Linked DNA regions of Homo sapiens: all the other regions are linked to region 3. The links are contacts of gene promoters, found by promoter capture Hi-C in blood cells and fetal thymus (Javierre and others, 2016). All regions are on one chromosome and are shown on one strand. The core of a region is centred on a gene start or on the middle of the fragment in contact, and the rest is flanking DNA. Distances in the headings are between cores, read along the strand shown.

The links. The method cuts DNA at HindIII sites, captures the fragments that hold promoters and counts their contacts. A CHiCAGO score of 5 or more calls a contact.
Region 1: a contact is called between a fragment that was not itself captured here and the fragment with the promoter of TMCC3 in region 3, in 1 of 17 cell types (neutrophils). The highest score is 6.8, in neutrophils.
Region 2: a fragment that was not itself captured here is called in contact with the fragment with the promoter of TMCC3 in region 3 in 1 of 17 cell types (neutrophils); the score reaches 8.1 in neutrophils.
Region 4: a contact is called between a fragment that was not itself captured here and the fragment with the promoter of TMCC3 in region 3, in 1 of 17 cell types (neutrophils). The highest score is 6.5, in neutrophils.

Annotation. Positions count from the first base shown.
Region 1 is chr12:94,256,636-94,259,335 of GRCh38, forward strand. All of the region lies in intron 17 of PLXNC1 (plexin C1), which reads left to right. Among named protein-coding and RNA genes, the nearest start is that of PLXNC1-AS1, 82 kb to the left of the region's middle. The HindIII fragment of the contact is 3,447 bases long and covers 1-2,700 here.
Region 2 is chr12:94,205,616-94,208,315 of GRCh38, forward strand. All of the region lies in intron 4 of PLXNC1 (plexin C1), which reads left to right. Among named protein-coding and RNA genes, the nearest start is that of PLXNC1-AS1, 31 kb to the left of the region's middle. RefSeq lists an enhancer at 2,114-2,183. The HindIII fragment of the contact is 7,278 bases long and covers 1-2,700 here.
Region 3 is chr12:94,649,285-94,651,984 of GRCh38, forward strand. It overlaps TMCC3 (transmembrane and coiled-coil domain family 3), which reads right to left and starts at 1,273. Exons shown (of 4, transcript NM_020698.4): 1 at 1,069-1,273. The coding sequence starts at 1,146. LOC105369914 (a long non-coding RNA gene) reads left to right here. Exons shown (of 2, transcript XR_945225.4): 1 at 1-319; 2 at 1,621-1,718. RefSeq lists silencers at 517-646, 737-1,206, 1,227-1,396 and an enhancer at 725-1,440. The HindIII fragment of the contact is 10,368 bases long and covers 1-2,700 here.
Region 4 is chr12:94,163,617-94,166,316 of GRCh38, forward strand. The region is part of intron 1 of PLXNC1 (plexin C1); the gene reads left to right. Among named protein-coding and RNA genes, the nearest start is that of PLXNC1-AS1, 11 kb to the right of the region's middle. The HindIII fragment of the contact is 2,605 bases long and covers 27-2,631 here.

The DNA of each region.
Region 1 (2,700 bases), core at 64-2,563, 390 kb before region 3:
CCCCATTAAGAATTTAAAAGCAATAAAATAACGGAGATTTTTGACTATCAACATGAATGCTGTGTGGGCTTTTACAGTTAATGATTGCCCTTGAGTGCTGAATAATCTGTGGCCTGAAAAAAGAAATGTTCTTATCTTCTAAATTTGGTAATCAAGAACAAGATAGAGTAATGAATGTAAAGGAACACTGTTGCAAGTTGAGTGTTTCCAAAAAAAAAAAAAAAAAAAAGATCCCAGGAACAATGCTACCTTATTTTAGGAGAAGAGAGATAGTTGCAAAGGAGGCAAACTGATTTAACTCAGTGTTGTGTATAATCTTGAAAAACAACTGGGAAAGTCATAAAAATTGAAGTCAGAAGTTGTTTAAAGGAGAGAACCCAGGAAAAAACATGCATAAATTTGTCAGAACCCTTTCAAGAAGACCTAAGTCAAAACTGATTTTATAATAATTAAGAAAAGATAGAACAGGGAAACAGATCGTAAGAAGACAATGCCACTTAAATGCATTCCAGGCTGCAGATAAGTCCTGGTATTAATTAGGCTCTTTATGGATTGATCAGAAGCCGAATCCTCTAGGCCTGGAGGTTGGGGGCTGTGGGGGTAGGATTTGGGTGTTCAGCACCTACAAAAAAGCAACAGGCAAAATCCAGAGGAGATTGTAGGTTCTCAAAGGAGGCCAGGGTTCTTTGCTCTGCCTGTCGGTTTTGGCTTTTAAAGCCTTGCTTTTTATTTTATTGACTCTTCTTTGCTTTGCATAAAGTAGGAGAAGAAATAAGGGTAGGCAGAGGATCTAAGCTGAAGAAAAGGGAAATTTGAATGAAAGGAGGAAGCAGCCTTAAAACTCAGAGAGCCACGGGTCCAGGCGCGGTGGCTCAAGCCTGTAATCCCAGCACTTTGGGAGGCCGAGGCGGGTGGATCACTTGAGGTCAGGAGTTAGGGACCAGCCTGGCCAACATGGTGAAACCCCGTCTGTACTAAAAATACACAATTAGCCAGGCATGGTGGCGTGCACCTGTAATCCCAGCTACTCGGGAGGCTGAGGCAGAGAATTGCTTGAACCCGAGATCAAGACCATCCTGGCTAACACAGTGAAACCCCGTCTCTACTAAAAATACAAAAAAATTAGCCAGGCATGGTGGCGGGCGCCTGTAGTCCCAGCTACTCGGGAGGCTGAGGCAGGAGAATGGTGTGAACCTGGGAGGCGGAGCTTGCAGTGAGCCGAGATAGCGCCACACTGCACTCCAGCCTGGGCGACAGAGCGAGACTCTGTCTCAAAAAAAATAATAAATAAATAAAAAGAATTGCTTGAACCTGGGAGGCGGAGGTTGCAGTGAGCCGAGATCACGCCACTGCACTCCAGCCTGGGCGACAGAGGGAGATTCCGTCTCAAAAAAAAATAAAGAATTGCTTGAACCCGGGAGGCAGAGGTTGCCGTGAGCCGAGATCGCGCCACTGCACTCCTGCCCGGGCGACAGAGCAAGACTCCGTCTCAAAAAAACAAAACAAACAAAAAAACACACAGAGAGAACCAGGGCGGCACTTCCGTATTTACGATTAAGAATCAACCTGTTTCTCCTGTCTATTTACATGAAGTTGGTTCAGCAGAAAAATATTAAGAACCAGAAAATGCAAACCTAGGGTCTGGGGGTTTTTTTGGTTTGTTTTTTTGGGGCTTTTTTGCTTTTTACTAGGGGAGGATATGGCCAAAATAGTTTCAGGTCTTTTGCTTGGGCTTGCAGATTTGAAACTATGAAGCAAAATTCTCTACAGAAGAAATTTACTTCACAAGATATAAAATTAGCTCAAAGTTTCTATTATTATCAAAAAAGAAGAAAAACTTGAATGTTTTGAGTTTAGAGTCTCATTCTGTGGACTTAAAGTATTGCTTAACATACTTTTAAAGTTTAACCATTGATTTTTAATAAGATTGATGATACACTATAAACCCTTTTTATATTCCAGAGCTACCTAGCATTTAGAAACCAGTGGGGTGATAGCATTGTGGTCTAGTTTGCTATAAATTAGGAATAAAACCAGTAATGATAACTGACACAGGGCACTTACTCTGCACCCATTTTATTTTCACACTAAACCTCTGAGGTGGGAACCATTACTGTCCCCATTTCAGAGATGAGGCAAGTCAGACACAGAGAGGTTAGGTAACACATCCCACGTCATGTGACCAGTATGTGATTAAAACCAGGACTGGAACCCAAGTAGTTTGGTCCAGATTCTATGCTTTTAACTACCCCCTGTCTTTCAATATCATTGTGTATTGAAACAGTAGATGCTACTTAGGTAAGACTTGTAAAACTTAACAACGTAATTTAGTCTTTATCTTTAGAAGGTAAATTGCTTGAAGAGGGGTCTGATATTTGCATAATCTTCATCAATGACCCCTTCTTTAACTCTTAAATCACTTCTTCTAAAACGTGGGATGATACCTTCATCTACCAAACCTGGAACTAATGCCATGATAATTATTATTCTTAGAGGCTTTCGGAATTCAGTGGCGTTTCTTGAAAGCTGAATAATTATTTATTATGTATTAGAGAATACGCAGCCACCATAAACCCAGGGGCGCTTCAGATTAGCAAATAGTGTCTCTACTTTATTAAAACGGACTTGGGTATTATAACAAAAATACACTCTTCATTTCCTTTGGATGTTATGAATAATAAAAGTGTCTCCTTCCTCTCA
Region 2 (2,700 bases), core at 178-2,677, 440 kb before region 3:
AACCTCTTGCTAGTTGTGTGGTTGTGTTGTATTCACAGCTAGTGATAGAGGAAAATTAGAGGCCTCTCAGAATGCCCACTTCTGTGTTCTCCCCCAAATCCTTGCTAACCGCTTCATCCTACAGTCTCTGCCTTACCTTCTGTCTTCTCTGTTTCTGGGGTCCCCATCCCTGTGTCCTCATCCTGGCCCAGCTCCACCCTGCAACCACTGGTTGAGGTCCCAGGAAGCCAGGAGGAACTATGAATGTCCTCTATTAAGTGGTGGTTAGGATCTATAGGAAGGCATGAAGCCAGGGGGCCAAGTTTGTGGGCTCTGAAATCAGACTTCTGCCACTTGGCAGCTATGTGGCCTTGATATGTTACTGTACTTCTCTGAGCTTCTGTTTCATCCGTAAAGAGTGAGGTTGTTGTGAGAACTAACTGCAAACACTCCCATCAGTGCCTGGCACACAGTAATGTTTCCTCCATGCCAGTCTGTGGTGGGGTAATTATTCAGGGATATTATGGGTTACACATATTTCTATGAACCCAGGAAGCAAACCCACTGTATATAAAGACTTTCTAAGTTTTCAAACAGTGAACTTAGAAACAAGTGTCTGGGACCTTCCTGTTTATGACTTGGGGCCGGAGTAGGTTTGGAACTTTTTTTTTTTTTAAATCTGTTGGGGGTGAGGGAGGGGGCGGTTACATACTTATATAGTTGAATGCCAATATCAAACTCTAGTATTATCTCGAATACATTAAGCTCTACAGCAGATTTTATAGCAAACTAACAAGAACAGCTTTCTTAAATAGTTTCATTGACTGAATTGTTTCTACATACAGTGTTTTTCACATAAGGGAAGTCTTTTTAAATTAACTTTTTGGTTTGGGGGATTTTTTTTTTTTTCCTTCAGGCAATCTTTTCTTTGCATTTGGGCAGGTTCTGTATTCTAATTTGCAAATAGGCTTGTGTCTGCCTGCAGGCTTTATCATGAAAGTATTAGCTCTAAGTGGAAATAAGGACTAGAAAAATAAAATACTGACTGGGAGTCTGAGGACTTTGGGATAGATCCTCAGTAGAGGATGGAGCAAAAGTAATAGTAAGTCAAGAAAGCAAATATATCTCTACCAGTTTCCCTAGAATATGTCCATTCTTATCCAAATCCAATTTTCCTCCTATTCTTGGCCTGAAGAAATTGAAATGAAGCCATTAAGATATCAGCCTATCTGAGAGTGCATCACTGAAGAATCAGCCTCACTAAGAGTCCTGTGTGACAATGAGATTTTAATTTAATTAGGGCAGTGGCTCAAGTGTTTATGCACTTGACCGTTGCTCTTGTTGATACGCAGGAATTAGAGTGATAGCTTTCAAAAGGAATTATTTCAGAGTAACTAGCTTTGTTTACTAAAATATGGGAGCTATAAGATCTGCTCTGTAAGAAATGTAAATGTATGAGTAATATGCTGTCATGAAGATTTTATAATCTGCAGTATTTGAGAAGTAATAAGATACTGTTGTTGGCTGGCCATCTGGTTATACATACTTGGTGTCATGGTTTGCTTTTTATTTTTTCATTTTTTATTTGTACTGGTGAGAGGCAAAGAATAGGAGTTCAGAGGTGGTGGGTTGTTTTTTTATATATATATAAAAACAAGGAATTTATGTTTAGTTGCTTAACATGGTTAGATTTTGTTTTTGCCTTATGCAGAATAAAAAATGAAAGGTTCATTTTATACTTTCTTTTCCCTTTTTTTTTCAAAAAGTAAAATGGAAACCTCACCCCCAATTTGTCCCCAGATTTAAACTTTTTGCTTGTTTTAAAAATAGTCTCTTTGGCATGAGGAGGAGTCAGACATGAATTAAAACTCTAGAAAGAAAAATCAGCAACAGAAAAGACCTATAGAGATTTCATATTTCATCCTTTCATTCAAAAATATTTATTGAAACCCTAGTATTTGCATATCATGCTGCCAGACACTGAGGGATTTGCTAAAGAAATATTAAAGACCTTCTCCCTTCTTTGAGGAGCTTAGAGCTTACTTGGGGAGAACTGAGATAGACTTATGAAATAGTTAAGTTGTAATTCGAGGCAGCATATGATTAAATACCGAAATATGTACTTCTGACAAGAAATGCTATAGGAGTTCAGAAAAGGGAGTGATAACTCAGTGGCACTACTGTTTTCTGCCTACAAATTGGCAAATTGTAGCACTATTTGTATGAAATATTTTACACTTGTTTTTTTGGCAGCCTTAGGCTTTGACTCCCAGGCAGCATTAAGAGCCAACAAAAATATTTGTACTCCAGTCTCTTCGGAATTGGCTTATTTTTTTTTTTCTTATAGGCAGAGGAAGTGCCTTACACAAACCGGAGTGCCCATGAGAGGCAGGGAGTTTTTGACAGTCATGATCTATTTCAGATACAACCGAAAGAACCAGCTTCGTCATTCTGTTTTTCAATCCAGCAGTGCTTGTCTCTCCGTTGCAAACTCTCTCTGACATTGACAGGCGGTTTAATTTGAACTTAATGTCTTTGACGGATGAGCTAGCCATCAAGGGTCAGATAAATTTATGGCTTTGGAGAATTGCCGATGAAAATCCCCATGGTTATAATGTTGGAGAAGAAACTGACACAGATGTAGTGGGAGGTGGAACACAGATGTGCTTATTGGGAGCAGGGTTCCCCAAATGTCAGAAGCCGGTGACATGCTAAAGGTAT
Region 3 (2,700 bases), core at 23-2,522:
AAGGGCCGCGACACAACCCCGTCACTATTGCTACTATTTCCATCCAGTTGGTCTCTCGATCTTGGAAGTGGCAGGCCAGAATCTGAGCCCGGCTCTCCCTCCGTGAACTTTACACAGAGGCTGACACCCAAATCCCCAGTTCTCGGACAAGCGAGTAAGTAGTTGGCGGAGCAAAGAACAACTCCAGGTGCCTCCTGCCAGAACAGATGCCAGCGTGGAGGAGGTGCTTTGTTAAATGGCACTTCAATCAGCCCTGGGGAGAACGGGTTACAGAGCCTCACATCCAGCCTCGACGATTCAACAGCCCGGGAGGGCAAAGGTATTCACCGGGGAGGGCGAAGGCTTCCTCTCCCAGGACAGACCCGCGCTTGGGCTGCGGCCTCCGTCTTTATTTTGAAGCCCTACAGGGCTCGTCTCTGCAGCAGGCTCAGAATGAGCTATTTTCGCCCACAGCCAAAATCAGCAACAGCAAATTACACTGCAAACAATGGCGAGGGCGCCTGCTCGGCTCGGCTCGAAACTCCGGAGAGGCAGCGCAAAGATTCTGACTTTTCACTTGGGCAGAGCCCGTCCGCCGCCTCCCCGCGCTCCGGCTGCGCACCGCGCTCGGGTTCCGGCCACACGCCCCGAGGACAGGGAGACAGGGCGGCCGCCGGGACGTTCGGCGGGGAGGGCACCGTCACACCCAGGGCGAGACCCCGGAGACCTGGAGACGCGGGGCCGCGGGTGGCCGGGTGGCGGGATTCCCTCGCGGAGCGGCGGGCGCTCCCTGGCGGGGAGGACAGCAGAGCGCGGGCCGTCGGGGAACCGGGCGTCCCGCATAGCGCGCGGGGACCTGGGCGCCGTGAGGGGCAGGCGGACCTGGGATCCCAGAACCGCAGCCTGGGCTCCGACGCCCCCGACGCCCACCCTTTTAGCTCGGAGGATCGGGGAGGCACGGACCTCCGGCGGCAGCGGAGGGCGGCGGCGAAACGCCGGGGGCGCGTGGGTTAGCACTGAGCCGCCGCCCCAGCCCGCCTCGCCCCCGGGCCCGCGCGCACCCGCCGCCCCCCAGCCCGCTGCGCTCACCCGGCTCTTGCAGCGGTGGTGCCGGCCGGGGTACGAGTAGGTCCGGTCCACGGTGAGCGCCGTGTCGCTGCCCGGCATCTCCGCGCTCCGGCCGCGAACTTTCCCGTCTTCTGGGGCTGCCGCGCCGCGAGCCACCGGCTGTGCTCGGGATCACCCTGGGAGCCGCGGGCGAGGGGGCGGCGCGGCTGCTGCAGCTGTTGCCTCTGGTGCCAACACCCGCGCGGCCGCCCTGCGCCGCCGCCGCCGCGGGGTGGGGGAGGCGGGGCAGGAGGCGAGAGTCTCCTCCCCCTTCCCTTCTCCCCGCCTCTCCCGCGCCCCGCAGCCGCCTGGACCCCCCACCCACCCCCGACCCGGGAGGCAATGTCTTCGCCTCCCTCCCTGGCTGAAAGTTGATTCCATCCCCTCCCACACAGCCCTCTTTCTCCCCAAAAGATAAGCGACATCCACACTACACTATCTGTTGACTTATTTTATATATAAAAGGTGACTGTTACTGCAAGAAGTTGACACTTGCCTTAAATGCCTCTTTTTATGTTATTCTCCATTCAACAGGCACTTACTGGGCAGCTGCCATGTACCAGACGCTGGACTAGAGACCAGAGATTTAAAGTAAAAAAATGAAATAAAATAAAAACTCCCCCCGACCATGATTGCCCTGAGCATAGAGCATACTTCCACTTAAACTAAGATCCTACTGTGTTGTGTATTTTAATTTTGCATATCTGGCTCACCTTTATGTTTCTTTCTTTTTTTTTTTTTTTTGAGACTGAGTCTCGCTCTGTCACCCAGGCTGGAGTGCAGTGGCGCAATCTCGGCTCACTGCAAGCTCCGCCTCCCGGGTTCACGCCATTCTCCTGCCTCAGCCTCCCAAGTAGCTGGGACTACAGGCGCCTGCCACCACACCCAGCTAAATTTTTTTGTATTTTTAGTAGAGACGGGATTTCACCATGTTAGCCAGGATGGTCTCGATCTCCCGACCTCGTGATCCACCTGCCCTAGCCTCCCAAAGTGCTGGGATTACAGGCGTGAGCCACTGTGCCCAGCTTACCTTTATGTTTTAAGCTACTTGGAAGTCAGGATATCTTTTCATTTTAGTATTCCCCATTCCCAGTCATCAGTCCCTGCCCACAAGGAATTTGGAGTTTAGAAGAGGAAGGACCATTGGTGAACAATTTAAATATCAGTAACCCCAAACAAAATTCAAAACACCTGTTCTGGCTCTGTAGGGTGTACAGTGGGAGACTGGGCTGAAATATTTAAAGTGCAGCTGTTCCAGAGAGGACCTGGAGCCCAGTGTGACCAGTCCAGGGGGAGGGAAGGATTTCCCTCATAGGGTTCAAAGGGGACGGTAGAGCAGGCTGAAGAAAACTTTGGAGCCCCTAAAATCAGAGGTACATTTGGGAAAACCTCAAGTCATCAGTTTTGGGGAGTGTCCTCAGGAACAGGAAGACATGATGGAAAAGAAGGCAGAGACCATGCAGAATCTTCGTTCAAGGGTAAGAAGTTCAGCCTTATTCTGTGGGAACTGGGTAGCTGTTGGAAATTCTTGAACAGGGAAATGATAGCATGGGAATGGAAGTTTAAGGAGAAGGTATATCTGACATCAGGGTGAAGCAGCGATTGAAGATGGGC
Region 4 (2,700 bases), core at 79-2,578, 490 kb before region 3:
GAGAGGGTAGAAGGAGGTGAAATACAAGCTTCACCACCTTGCATGCTTCCCACGGCTGTGCTGCACACCAGTGATGTTTTCTGGTCTAGAGGCTGCCCAGCTGTGTCCCTAAGCACACTTTGAACCTCTCCTTTTGGTCATTTGAGTCCCCAGTGTAAATTCTTCCTTCAGACGATCAGAGAGCTGCCATAACTTAGTCAGATCCCGGTCAACACTGTATACACTAGAATGGAGAAAAGCAACCCGAGCCTTCCTAGCTAATAAAATCACTGTCCGACTTGGGCAAATAGTTGTCCTTTCCATCTCCTTAGCTGAATAAAAGTAATCTAATTATTTTCAAACACATGATTTCATCTGGACCTCACAACAACACTGAGAGGCAGGGCATGTGGTATTATTAGGTCCATTTTACAGATACAGTCACTGAGGTTCAGGAGACTTAACTTGCTGGAATCAAGCAGTCTATAAGGCACAGAGCAGGGGCCAGAACTTGGGTGCAGGGCTCCTTCAGGGGTTTCCTAATGGCAAGTGGGCCCCTTGGGAAGTAACAGAAAATGATGAAACTGCTTCAAAACAAAGGGATCCCAAAGGGAACAGAATATAAAATTAACTGCCCAAGAAAGGCATTTTGTCATGTACAAGAAATTGATAGGTACCCAGTTGGTATTTCCTCCCACCTGGTAAGGTAAAATCAACATACAGGAATCCTTTTAGCACCTTGGGGGTAAAACACTTGACTCTTGCTTGGTGCTCAACATTGGAGGCCCCAGTTTTGTGCCCATTCCCTCCCGATGATGCCGCAAAAGCTGGAGCATGGCTGTGAGCACCCTGCCTCGATGAGCCGGGCCATCTTTCACATGGTAGGGGCAGGGCCAAGCTGTGGCTCAGCTCTAGAGGGTGCCTTTCACACCCTGGAATGCATGACTGGCACCCCCTGCAGTTGTGCAGGGCACAATGGGAGAGTATTTATTGTCCATGAAAAATCATATGAAGCAGCTGCAAAGAAGTCTAATTGTTTTCCTCATGATATGCCCATGACTCCCTGCACACACACACACACACACACACACACACACACACACACACACACGTACACACACAAACACACACACACCTCAGGAGCTTTGGTCCCAGTTTGCTATATCAGGCCCAAAGCTCTTTCTCTCTTTCAGCCCAAACATCGCTTGAGCCAAGGTAGCTTTCTCCTCCAACTGAGAAAAGTTTCCCTCTTAGAGCCGGCAAACGTGTAGGCGTGACGTTATGCTTAGACACGGCAGGAAGGAGAAGCAGAGTGACAACTCTGAGGGAACCAAGAAAGCCCAAAGGGGAGACAAGGTTTAGAGCGAAATCAAGATCGGATTTTGTCATGAAAGGCAGAACTGGCAAAAGCATCATTACAAGGCATTAACCTTGTTACACACAGACGAACAAGCAGAGGCTGGGATTCAGAAATAAATTACACATAATAAACTAGACAGAATAGGCTGAGAGCAACATTAGCGATTATGCCCTAAGGGGAGAGAAGGGCAAGATAGAAAATAGGCCCGAAAAAAAGAGAGAAAGAATAATCTCTGGACACAGGGGGCTGACTGCACTGTTTCCCCCTTCTTCTGCCTGGCTCCCTGGGTATTAACCTCACTTTTGTGAGGACGTTTCTCCGGAGCCTGTCTTTCTTTTGTTTTCATTTGCTGCAATAAGCATAAGAAAGCCATTCAAAGGGTTCCTTTTCCCATTCACAGGGACCTGTCCATTTCTGTGTGTTTCCAGCACAAAAGAATCCATTTCCATTCAGCCAGAGCAGCCCCTAGAGTTTTCATGAGGTCCAAGCCTCCTCTCCTGTTTTCTTCCAGGCTCGCTGTTGTAATAGGCTGCAAAATCCTGACTGTGGCCAGGGTCCTCCAGGCTGGTGAGAGGAACAAGCATTTGTCCACGTCCTGGTCCCTGCAGCTGGGGAAGAACTGCAGTTTAGTGTCCGCTCCAACAAGTTGTGATTGTCATTTCTTAAACAGTGACTTCCTTTTGGTTCCAAGTAGCAGAAAACGCAACCAACAGTGGCTTAAACCATGACAACTATTGTTAACTTAGTAAAATGTTTAAAAGTTGAAGGTCTGCGGCTCAGTGGTGTCTCCAGGAACATAGAATCTCTTTTCTTTCCCCTGCACCAATCTTAGCATGTTGCTTTGTATCCTTCATCTTGAATCTCATGGAAACAGAACGGTTGCCACGAGTCTATGCATGATGAGATCACACAACTGTATTCCAGAGGAGGAAGTGAGGGAAGAGGGCAAACGGGTTCTCCTCAAGAGGCTTCTGTTATCAATGAGGAAACTTATTCCCAGAAATCCTTCCAGTGGACTTCTCACATCTCCCTGCCCAGGACTGGGCCACATGACCACCCTCAGCTCTAAGGGTTAGGAAAGCCAGTGTCTGGCAATAGGGAATGGAGCTGCCATTTGGCTTGGCCCAACGATAGCTTCCACCAGGCTTGGGTTCATTGCTGTCTGAACAAAATTAGGGTTCTTCTTGGCAAAGAGAAAATAACTGCCATGGGTGTGGCAGTAACTTGTGTTTTTAAATGAAGTAATGATAGCAAGCATGGGTTATGTGTTGCTATGTGCCAAACCTGTTCTAAGCTTTACTGAGGCTTACGCACAAACTCACCCAGTCCTCATAAAAAGTCTGTGGCATAAAAAGTCTGTG